Regions from separate parts of the Homo sapiens genome. Here region 1 is linked to region 2. The links are contacts of gene promoters, found by promoter capture Hi-C in human tissues and cell types (Jung and others, 2019). All regions are on one chromosome and are shown on one strand. The core of a region is centred on a gene start or on the middle of the fragment in contact, and the rest is flanking DNA. Distances in the headings are between cores, read along the strand shown.

Region 1 (4,856 bases), core at 220-2,719, 1.3 Mb after region 2:
GACGGTGTTAGTGACCCCACCACACCCACTACAGTGTTGAGCACTCATCACATGTGTGTCCGTGGAGCTGGCCTATATGCGCTCTCCAGTATGAGGCTGTATTATGTCTAAGGATACACAAATACACGGCTTTAAAGTAGGAATATTTTTTAATTTACTACAAAGAAGCTCAGGGATTAAAGAACCATCCGTCTCTTAATTCTCATGGTCGATGGCTTTATCTTTTTGCATAGCGTGCTTGCCTAAAGCGAGGCACCTCTTCATATATAAATCAGCCTTTTTTTGAATAAAAGTTAAATACAACAGGATGGAAATGCAGCTTTGAAAACCTATAATGAGCAGGAGGGATTATTATGCATCTACACCCCGGGGAAGTGAATATTTCATGTTAGAAAAAGTAGAGGCCAAGGGCAAGGTTCATTTAAAATGTATAAAGATAATAAAAGCGCTCATGGATGGAAAGGCCATCTGAAAGGACTGTTCACTTTTTGGAGAGGCTGATGTGGAATCATTGTGTTTCTTTGCAGGGGGAAAAAGAAAAAGTCCTGTGTGCGAATGGCCCCCTGCGTGGTGCTGCGTCAGCAGACAGGAGCATTATTTTCCCCTGGAATGTGCAGCGCTTGGTGCCTCTGTTCTCTCTGTAGTGCACAGAGCCAAGCAGAGAGAGAGGCTGAGCGTTTCAAAGAGAGACAAAACAAAAACAGATTATTCTGCTGTGCTGCCACATCACCACAGCACAATACTCTGTTCAAAATTGTCTCTTGTCAGGCACATTCTTCAAACAGTATTATGTGTACAAAGACTCTCTGTGTTGGAGAATTTGCATGTGTAGGGAAAATAGCTGCATAGTGCGGAATATTTCCTGAAGAGGCCAGATTTCTGTGTGTGTATGTGTGTGCCGGGCATCTGTGTCCTTAGCATTTTGGAAGGTGCCTGAGCTTTCGGAGGTCACCAAAAAGTACTGAGTCATCGTGCCATTCGGTTACCTTCGGCGCTACCATCCTAGTCTGAAGCTTTTACAGGCCTCTAAGAAGGTCTTCCTGAGACCCCAGTCTTGTTTTTTGCATAAGTACGCTGCCCAGGCTCCGGTGATTGACAGGTGTAGAATGGGACGTCCTCCTTTCCCAGTTGCATGATACATAGTGTTCAGTGTTAATTTCTGGAATTCAGGTCACTTGAAAGGCCAATTCTTGGGCCTTTCTGCCTGAATGGCTGATGATTCCTCTCCTTGCATCCCTCGTGATCAATTATCCAGAAAAACTGATTATTCAGATTGTTAAATCCCCAGTTAGTCCGGATAATCGGCATTCTGTTGTATCCCATAAATGTGGCCCACGCTGTGGAGCAGGGTGGGCCTCTTCCTGGGGCCCTGTGGCTCCTCTCTCCCCAAGCTCAGGCGTGCTGCTCTGTCTCCCGCTGCCTGCTCTTCTGGGCATTCCGCTCTCCTCCAGCGCCACTGATGCACAGCCTTTCCAAGAGGGTGGCCTTGCCTCTGGGTCAGCTCTCCATTTTGGGGGGACTAGGGTGGCCCGGCTGGAGGCCTCTGCAGTCTTTGTAACTGGGACAAAAGTTGAAAGGACACATAAAAAAAATTACAGATAAACCTGAAGGCACATGTGCTCACATGGCTGCTGTGGCTGTGGGATTGTTCCTTCTGCCTGTGAAATGGCTGAATTTAAAACCCATGCTTCTTTGTCCTCTAGATCCTGTACCCCCACTTTAGGAAGGGGCAGCAATCAGAATTAGGCAGCCTACTGTCTTTGTTGGGGGGCTGTAACAAAGTGCCATAGACAGAGTGGCTTGTCAGCAACAGAAACTTACTGCTCACAGTTCTGGAGGCTGTGAAGTCCAAGACCAAGGCACCAGCACATTCGGTGTCTGGTGAGGGCTCATTTCTTGGTTTGCTGTGTCCTCACATGGCGGAAAGGGCAGACGGGCTTCCTCAGGCTACCTGAGGAAGGGCACTAATCCCATTCACAAGGGCTCTGCCCTCCTGATCCATTCTCCTCCCCAGAGCTCCACCTCTTAATGCTATGACCTTGGGTAGCAGGTTTCAACATATGAATTTTGGGAGGACACATTCAAACCACATCACCTGCCCAAGGTCTTACAGCCGGTGGTAGCCCAGGCCAGCCATCTCTTTACTGTACCCATTTTGTCTCTAGTTCTGTATTAGGTGTTGGAGGAGGGAGGTCACACAGATGTGAAAATGAGTCAGCTGAACAAGGAGCAGGCCCTGCCCTGGAGGAGCTTAAGGGGAAATTATAAATTTCCCTCAGTAGTGAATCATGCTATAATCTAGTGCAGGGTGCAAATATGTGACCTGAGGGAGCTGGATAAAGTACTCACCTTGCTGTGGAGACGTTTGACTTGCACCTGGAAGGATGACTCAGAGCAGAGATGAGGTGGGGGAGGGCATTCTAGGGAAGGGGCCAACTTGAGCAAGAGCTTGTAGGTGCGGGGGCGTGCAGGGCAAGGGGGCCCTGTTCACTTAGAACAAAGGATCGGCCAAGGAAGTCTGGGAAACAAACCAAACTACAGAGGAGCTTGAGCAGAGTCGAAGTTTATTTTGTTCCCTCGTTGAAGGTTTAAAGCCGAGGAGCTACGTGATGAGCGCTGTGTTTTAGGAAGAGGACTCCGTAATAGAGAGGATGAGCCAGTGGATCCATTTCTAAATGTGTTTCTTAGGCTATAGGAGGAGGAGCTTTCTTTATTTATTCCAAAATTTGCTTTCAGATGCTAATGCGTGTATTGTGAACTCTGAGAAGAGAGAGTTCCAAAATGTATTTGACCACAAAACCTCTTTTTCACGGTAACTGGTGCACAGTAGGCACTCAGTGTTTTTGCATGACCAAATAAGCAAGTACAACACCAGCGTGCCACAGAGTGTGGTTCAAGAAACATTGCATTCTGTGAGGCGCTGAAGCAAGAAGAAAGGCCAGTGAGAGGCTTTGATATTTATCCGGGGAAGAGGTACTGATTGCTCAAGCTAAGCTTCAGTGGACTGAAGATAGGGAAGCCAACCACCCACAACTCCTCCAAATACCTCCCTCTCCCAGGCAGGCATGGCTGGGGCACCCGCTTCTGGGCTCTCCTGCCCCCTGGGCCCACCCCACGGATGGCTTTTCATGCATTTACTTATCATTCTCCTCTGGCAGAGACCGGCACGGTCTGGCCCGTGGGGGCTCAAGACAGTTGACAGAAGGAAGAGGAAGGAGACCTAAGGGACTTGGCAGCTGGGTGGAGAAGAAGACCCGATTTCTTTATTTATACATGGACTTGCTTGAAAAAGATTTCTAGTCCTTAACCAAAAAAAAGTGCAGTGACCTTTCCACTACGACATCTGTTCCCACGAGATGCAAGTCACAGTTTTCATGTAAGGGCTCAAAGCAACCGTGGAGGGCCGAAGGCAAGCAAGATGTGGATCAGGCTCTTGTTTTTCTCTTCTCTTCATCTTCCCCTCCCCTTCTAAAGTGAGAGCTTGTGATTAAGGAGGGTTTAATGACAGGGAAAACAGTTAAAATGAAGAAGGAGTTGCCTGAAGGAAGCATCTGGGAGGTGGGCAGAGCAAGGGGTACCGGGGGCCCTGCCATGAAGCCTTCAGGGCATCGGTATGGAAATGCCTCCAGCTCCTGGCTCGCGCTAAGCGTACCTGGTTCTCTAGATGGCTCCCGGTCTTCTTGCCTCCTGGCCCTTCCCTCTCCCCTCCTCTGACCTTTCTCTTACACTTATCTTTTTTTTTTTTTTTTTTTGAGATGGAGTCTCGCTCTGTCACCCAGGCTGGAGTGCAGTGGCACGATCTCGGCTCACTGCAACCTCCGCCTCCCAGGTTCACGCCATTCTCCTGCCTCAGCCGCTCGAGTAGCTGGGACTACAGGCGCTCGCCACAACGCCCAGCTAATTTTTTGTATTTTTGGTAGAGATGGGGTTTCACTATGTTAGCCAGGATGGTCTCGATCTCCTGACGTCGTGATCCACCCGCCTCGGCCTCCCAAAGTGCTGACATTACAGGCGTGAGCCACCGTGCCCGGCCCTGTTACACTTATCTTTATTCCCCTCATCCATTCTTTTCTCTGGACTATGTTAGTGCTCTGGTAACATCCTTTCCCTCATTCAATCCCAACTCTCCTAAACCCCCTTGAGTATGTTCACCAGTGGTTTATTGACATCCATCTATTCTTGTTCTCTCCAAGCCCAGCAAAAATAAGAAAACATATTTTGGGGTAGACAGATGCTGACCCCTGACAATTTCTCTTTGATTTTCCTCCACATTTTCTCTTTATTTTTTGCTTCACTAACCTTTAAGCCAGAGTAAATAAAAATGACTGGAGATGACTGATTTGCCCCAGATTACACATTAAGTTAGTGGTGATACTAGCGCCAGGGCCCAGGGCTGACTCTGCTATACCATACTCCCTTCCCTGATGGTGCCTGCTTTTCTGAAAGCTTCTTGCCCTATTATAAAGGAAGAAGCATCTACTCCAGATGTTGAAAAAGGTAAGGAGCGGTTATGAAGGCCCAGCCCTGGGGATAGCTTAGCATTTTGCATTTAGTGCAAACCCATTTGCAGCTTTTCCTCATATTTGGTTGAAAGCATTTGCATTATACAGTTCATTTATGCCTTTATCATAATTAGGTGCAAGTTGCTGCTGCAATATGCTTGTCTGCATTATTACCGTACTTGCCTATTTTCATTCCTGCTCATCCTACGTTATTGTGTCTTACTGGGTTCATGTCAAATCTTTTCAATGTGTATAATATTCTGCTTTCGGAAATCAGGAGGGGGCAAAGATTGTTATGTCAAAAATTCAGAGAAAATGAAGAAATGTGTGTACATGTGCACATATAGAGAGAAA
Region 2 (4,287 bases), core at 208-2,707:
GAATAAGGCCCCAGGTGATGAAGCAGAGCCAGGATGCACCCACTGCCCTAGAGTGCGGAGGGAGGCGTGCACCTGGGCCCAAGCACGCACTATGTCCATCCTCCTGGCTCTGGCAGCTCCCATCTCCCCTTTAGCAAAGGAGGAGGCACAGGCATGGGGAGGCCCTGTTAGGAAATTTGGCTGTGTGGCTCCAAAGCCCATGATGGGCCCTCTCTGGCAGGTGCCTGAATTTTTAGGCCCCAGGACACCAGAACAGGGCACCGTCTTCATCTTAGGTCTTGACAAAAGACTCAACCTTCCCCAGAGGGAAGGCCGGATGGGGACTGAATCTACCTGCGGATCCACTTAACACTCGTACCTTTTTAAAAAAAATTTTTTTTATTTTTGAGATGGAGTCTCACTCTGTTGCCCAGGTTGGAGTGCAGTGGCGCAATCTCCACTCACCGCAACCTCCATCTCGCAGGTCCAAGCAATTCTCCTCCCTCAGCTTCCAGAGTAACTGGGATTACAGGCGCCCGCCACCACGCCTGGCTAATTTTTGTATTTTTAGTAGAGACGGGGTTTCACCATTTTGGCCAGGCTGGTCTCGAACTCCTGACCTCAGGTGATCCGCCTGCCTCGGCCTCCCAAAGTGCTGGGATTACAGGCATGAACCACCACCACGCCCTGCCAACACTCGTAGCTTTATCATCCCCTTTTACAGACAAGGACACCGATGCACAGAGTGGTTAAGTAACTTGCCCCAGATCACACAGCTCTAGGTGCCCCAGCCAGGCCCTGAATCCAGATCATGTCCATTGTACAGATAGGCCACTCGGTGCCTTGCTGGGCGCTGCGGGCTGTGGGCTGTTGTGTGTGCAATGGGGAGGCCAAGACCAGCCCAGCCCACCAGGCCGGACCCTCGAGTCAAATAAGAAACATGCAAAGATCCAAACGAAGAGCGAATTCATGGAATGAAGCGCAGCTGCATATGCAGCCAGGGTTCCAGCCCCCACGGCCACGTGGAAAGACTGGCTGGCCCGGGTCTTACAGCGCTGAGGGTCGGTCTTCCAGCGCCTTAGGGGCCAGGCGTCCCTCCAAGAAGGCGAGGAAGTAGGCGGAGCTTCTGCCGGCGGACTAATGACGGTACAGAGGCGGGGCCGAAGGGCGGGGACACGTGGAGGGGCGGGGCCATTGGGTAATGGGCGGGGATGCGAGTGGAGGGGCAAAACCATCAGGTAAAAGGACCAATAGAGGTTCAGGAGCGAGTGGGCGGGGCACGCTGTGGGGCGGGATCGGCGGGGGATAGACCAATGGTGGGTAAGAGGCGGGACAGAGGGCGGGGCGCGCGGGGGCTGGGCTGGCGGGAGGCGGGCCAATGGAGGCTCGGGGGCGGGGCCGGCGGGCGGACGGGCGGGGGTGCGGAGGGGGCGGCGGCGGCGGCGGCGAACAAAGAGGCGGCGGGCGCGGGCGGCCGAGCGGAGCCGAGCGCAGCCGAGCCGGGCCGAGCCGGGCCGGGCCGGGCCCAGGAGCGCGCGGATGATGCGGGCGGCCAGGCGGGGGTCGACGGGTCCCTGAAGCCCGCGCCCCGGGCCAGCAAGGGAGCCCCGCGCAGGCCGCGCGCATCCGGAGGCGGCCGGGCCCCGCCATGGCCGGGGTCAGCTACGCGGCGCCCTGGTGGGTGAGCCTCCTGCACCGGCTGCCCCACTTCGACCTGAGCTGGGAGGCCACTAGCAGCCAGTTCCGGCCCGAGGACACCGACTACCAGCAGGTGACATGGGCCTCTCGGGGTCGCGGGGTCAGGGACCCCAGGTCACGGCCCCCTCCTCTCCCAGGGTCACGGCCCCCATCCCCGAGGGCCTAAAGACCCCTCATCCCCCCCTCCAGGGTCACGGCCACCTCCTCCTCGCAGGTACCGGCCTCCTTCCTTCTCGAGGGTCCCTTCTGAGTCCTAGGACCCTTTCTTCCAGGGTCATGGCCTCCTCCTCAAAGGTCTAAATACCCTCCAACCCCCAGTGAGGGTCCACGGCCCCCCTCCCGATTCTGGCCTTCCCTTCTGGTGTCACTAAGGCCCCTGGGTTTCATGGAGCTGCCTCTCCCCACTCCGTGAGCCCCCTTGGCCAGTGGAGGGCCTCTCCACCATCACTGTTGGCGGCCTGGTGCTGTGTCCCAGCAGAGACCCCTCCCCAGATGACCCCCAGGCTCTGAGATCAGAGCGGGTGCCTGAGCACATTGGGTGCAGGCAGGCAGAGACTCCTCGCCCACTCACCCCCGACTGGGGAATCCCACTGCCAGGCTTCCAGTGGGTGAATGGCCTGGGCCGCCGCCAGCCCTCTGTGGCCGGTAATGACCCCCTGCTTGGCGGTCAGGCTGTGGGATGTACACAGGGTGCCGTGTGTGGCCGTGGGAGACCAGGCTGCCTGTAGCCCCCGGGGGAGGGAGGCCCGGCGGCCAGGAAGCACCGTGGGCCTCAGGCAGGGAGGCTGGAAGCGGCTGAGCCCAGGCAGACCTGGGGGGCGGCTGGGGGCCCTTTGCAGCCCTCTCCCAGGGGAGCCCTTAGCCTGGCATCATGCCAGGCCCCAGCACCACCCCCATCGCCAAGCTACTGTCATTTGAGTGCGGGGCAGGGGACCAAGCTGTGGGCATTTCCTTCCTGCCTAGAGATCCGGATTCCAGAAGCCCCGTGACCAGGGTCCCTGGTCACCCGGAGTTTCTCTCTGGACGGATCATGGCAGAGCCCCATGGTGGGGTGGGGATGGCTTTGCTTATCAAAATGGCTTGGGAATCCGGTATTCCGCGGGCAGCCTAGCACCTGGACTCTTCAGAACTGCGTTGTCTGTGGCCTCCCGCATCCAGAGGAGGGAGGCGGAAGTGGAGGAGCAGGGCACCTGGGAGCCCACTGCTCCCAGCCTCGCGCTCACTTGCACCCAGGCCCCCCAGCCGAGCCGATGACGTTTCCTAACAGATGAGGAAGGGGGCGAGGGATCGGCCCAGGCACGCCCAGACACAGCAGGGAGGAGGGAGGCGGAAGGATTGGTATAAAATCTCACGCCTGCGTTCTAGAAGCCCAGCCCTGGGGGACCGTTCAGTGTGGGGGCAATGCACATTCAGGAACTTCTGGAACTTATTCCATGCTGATGGCTTTGCCACTTGTCCCTGGAGGACTCTGTTGAAGCTGCAAGGAGGGTGTGCTTCACTTTGGAAAGTTCTCTGCCCTGAGGGTTTGGCCCATTTGTCAGTTCTTAAGCTCCGGGGCAGCCCTGGGGCGTGGGGGGCGGCTGTTTCCTGCTGCCCCTTGGGCTGCCACCTGCCCGAGCTGCCAGCCACAGTTGGACTTCCTTCCAGCCCTCCGGGGTGCCTGCATTCCCACATTCGAGACAGGCAGTGAGAGGGAGTGAGGGGCGATGATGTCTGCAGCCCACAAGAGCCTCCGGGCAGTAGCCAGGCCCCTCTGCTCAGCCTGACCTGCCTGGCCTCCAGCAGGGTGCTATGGCCCTGGGAGGCCCTGGCTTCTGCCCCCTTTCCTCCCCTGCCCTGCGCTCTGCTCTGCTGTGGGAGGGCTCTGACTCACTCTCTCTCCTGCCTCATCTCCACAGAGCAGAATTAGCCACTGAATAATTCACGATGTGGAAACCGGCCTGCCTCCATCCCCCGCCGCCTCCACTCCCGGCTCTTGGCGAGGGGCTGTGGCGTGAGCTGGTCCTGGCGTGCGTCCTGCCCCTGCCCTTCCAATACTGGTGCTTTTCGGCAACTGCTTGGTGTCTCTGAGCCTTCATTGCCTCATCCTGAATCTGGGCTGGCCGTGCCTCCTGTGTAGGGTCACCCCTGGGAGGCAAGGGCCAGGAGCCCCCTTCCTGGGAGAATGGGCAGTGGGTGGGCCTGGGCTGTGGCAGGCGCCCCTTCCTGCCTCCCCTGGTGAGGAGTTGCTGGCTGTAGTGGGGGGTGGACCCCTCACCCATCCTGACTGAGGGCTCCCTCTTAGCTGTCTCTGTGCTGCCCCAACCTGGGCTGTGCCCTGCTGGGGAGTGGGCATCTGCCCCGTGGTTATGGGGGCGGGGGGATGGAGGGGAGGTGGGGCCTGGGGTTGGGAGTTGGGGGTGTGGCACGGGGGACTGGCCTTTGTCCTTTGCTATTTCTGGCCCCCGTGGTCTGCTGTTGGGAACCCTGGTGAAACCCCCGGAGGGACCAGGGCCAGGTCCTGTTTCAAGGCCCTGCGTGGGACTGCCTGTCACTAGTCACTTTTCCCACAGCCCCAGGAGGTGGGGAGAGTTGTCCATTGTACAGATTAGCAAACTGAGGCTCCGAATC

What was found. Contacts are between HindIII fragments. The study calls those that stand out against the background at their distance.
Region 1: a contact is called between a fragment that was not itself captured here and the fragment with the promoter of TTYH3 in region 2, in 1 of the 25 tissues and cell types used here (dorsolateral prefrontal cortex).

Annotation. Positions count from the first base shown.
Region 1 is chr7:3,909,560-3,914,415 of GRCh38, forward strand. All of the region lies in intron 5 of SDK1 (sidekick cell adhesion molecule 1), which reads left to right. Among named protein-coding and RNA genes, the nearest start is that of SDK1-AS1, 560 kb to the left of the region's middle. RefSeq lists an enhancer at 1,346-2,545. The HindIII fragment of the contact is 4,501 bases long and covers 1-3,720 here.
Region 2 is chr7:2,630,529-2,634,815 of GRCh38, forward strand. TTYH3 (tweety family member 3) reads left to right here and starts at 1,458. Exons shown (of 14, transcript NM_025250.3): 1 at 1,458-1,750. The coding sequence starts at 1,628. RefSeq lists enhancers at 883-1,614, 2,347-3,079, 2,859-2,968, 3,812-4,287 and a silencer at 1,399-1,808. The HindIII fragment of the contact is 13,143 bases long and covers 1-4,287 here.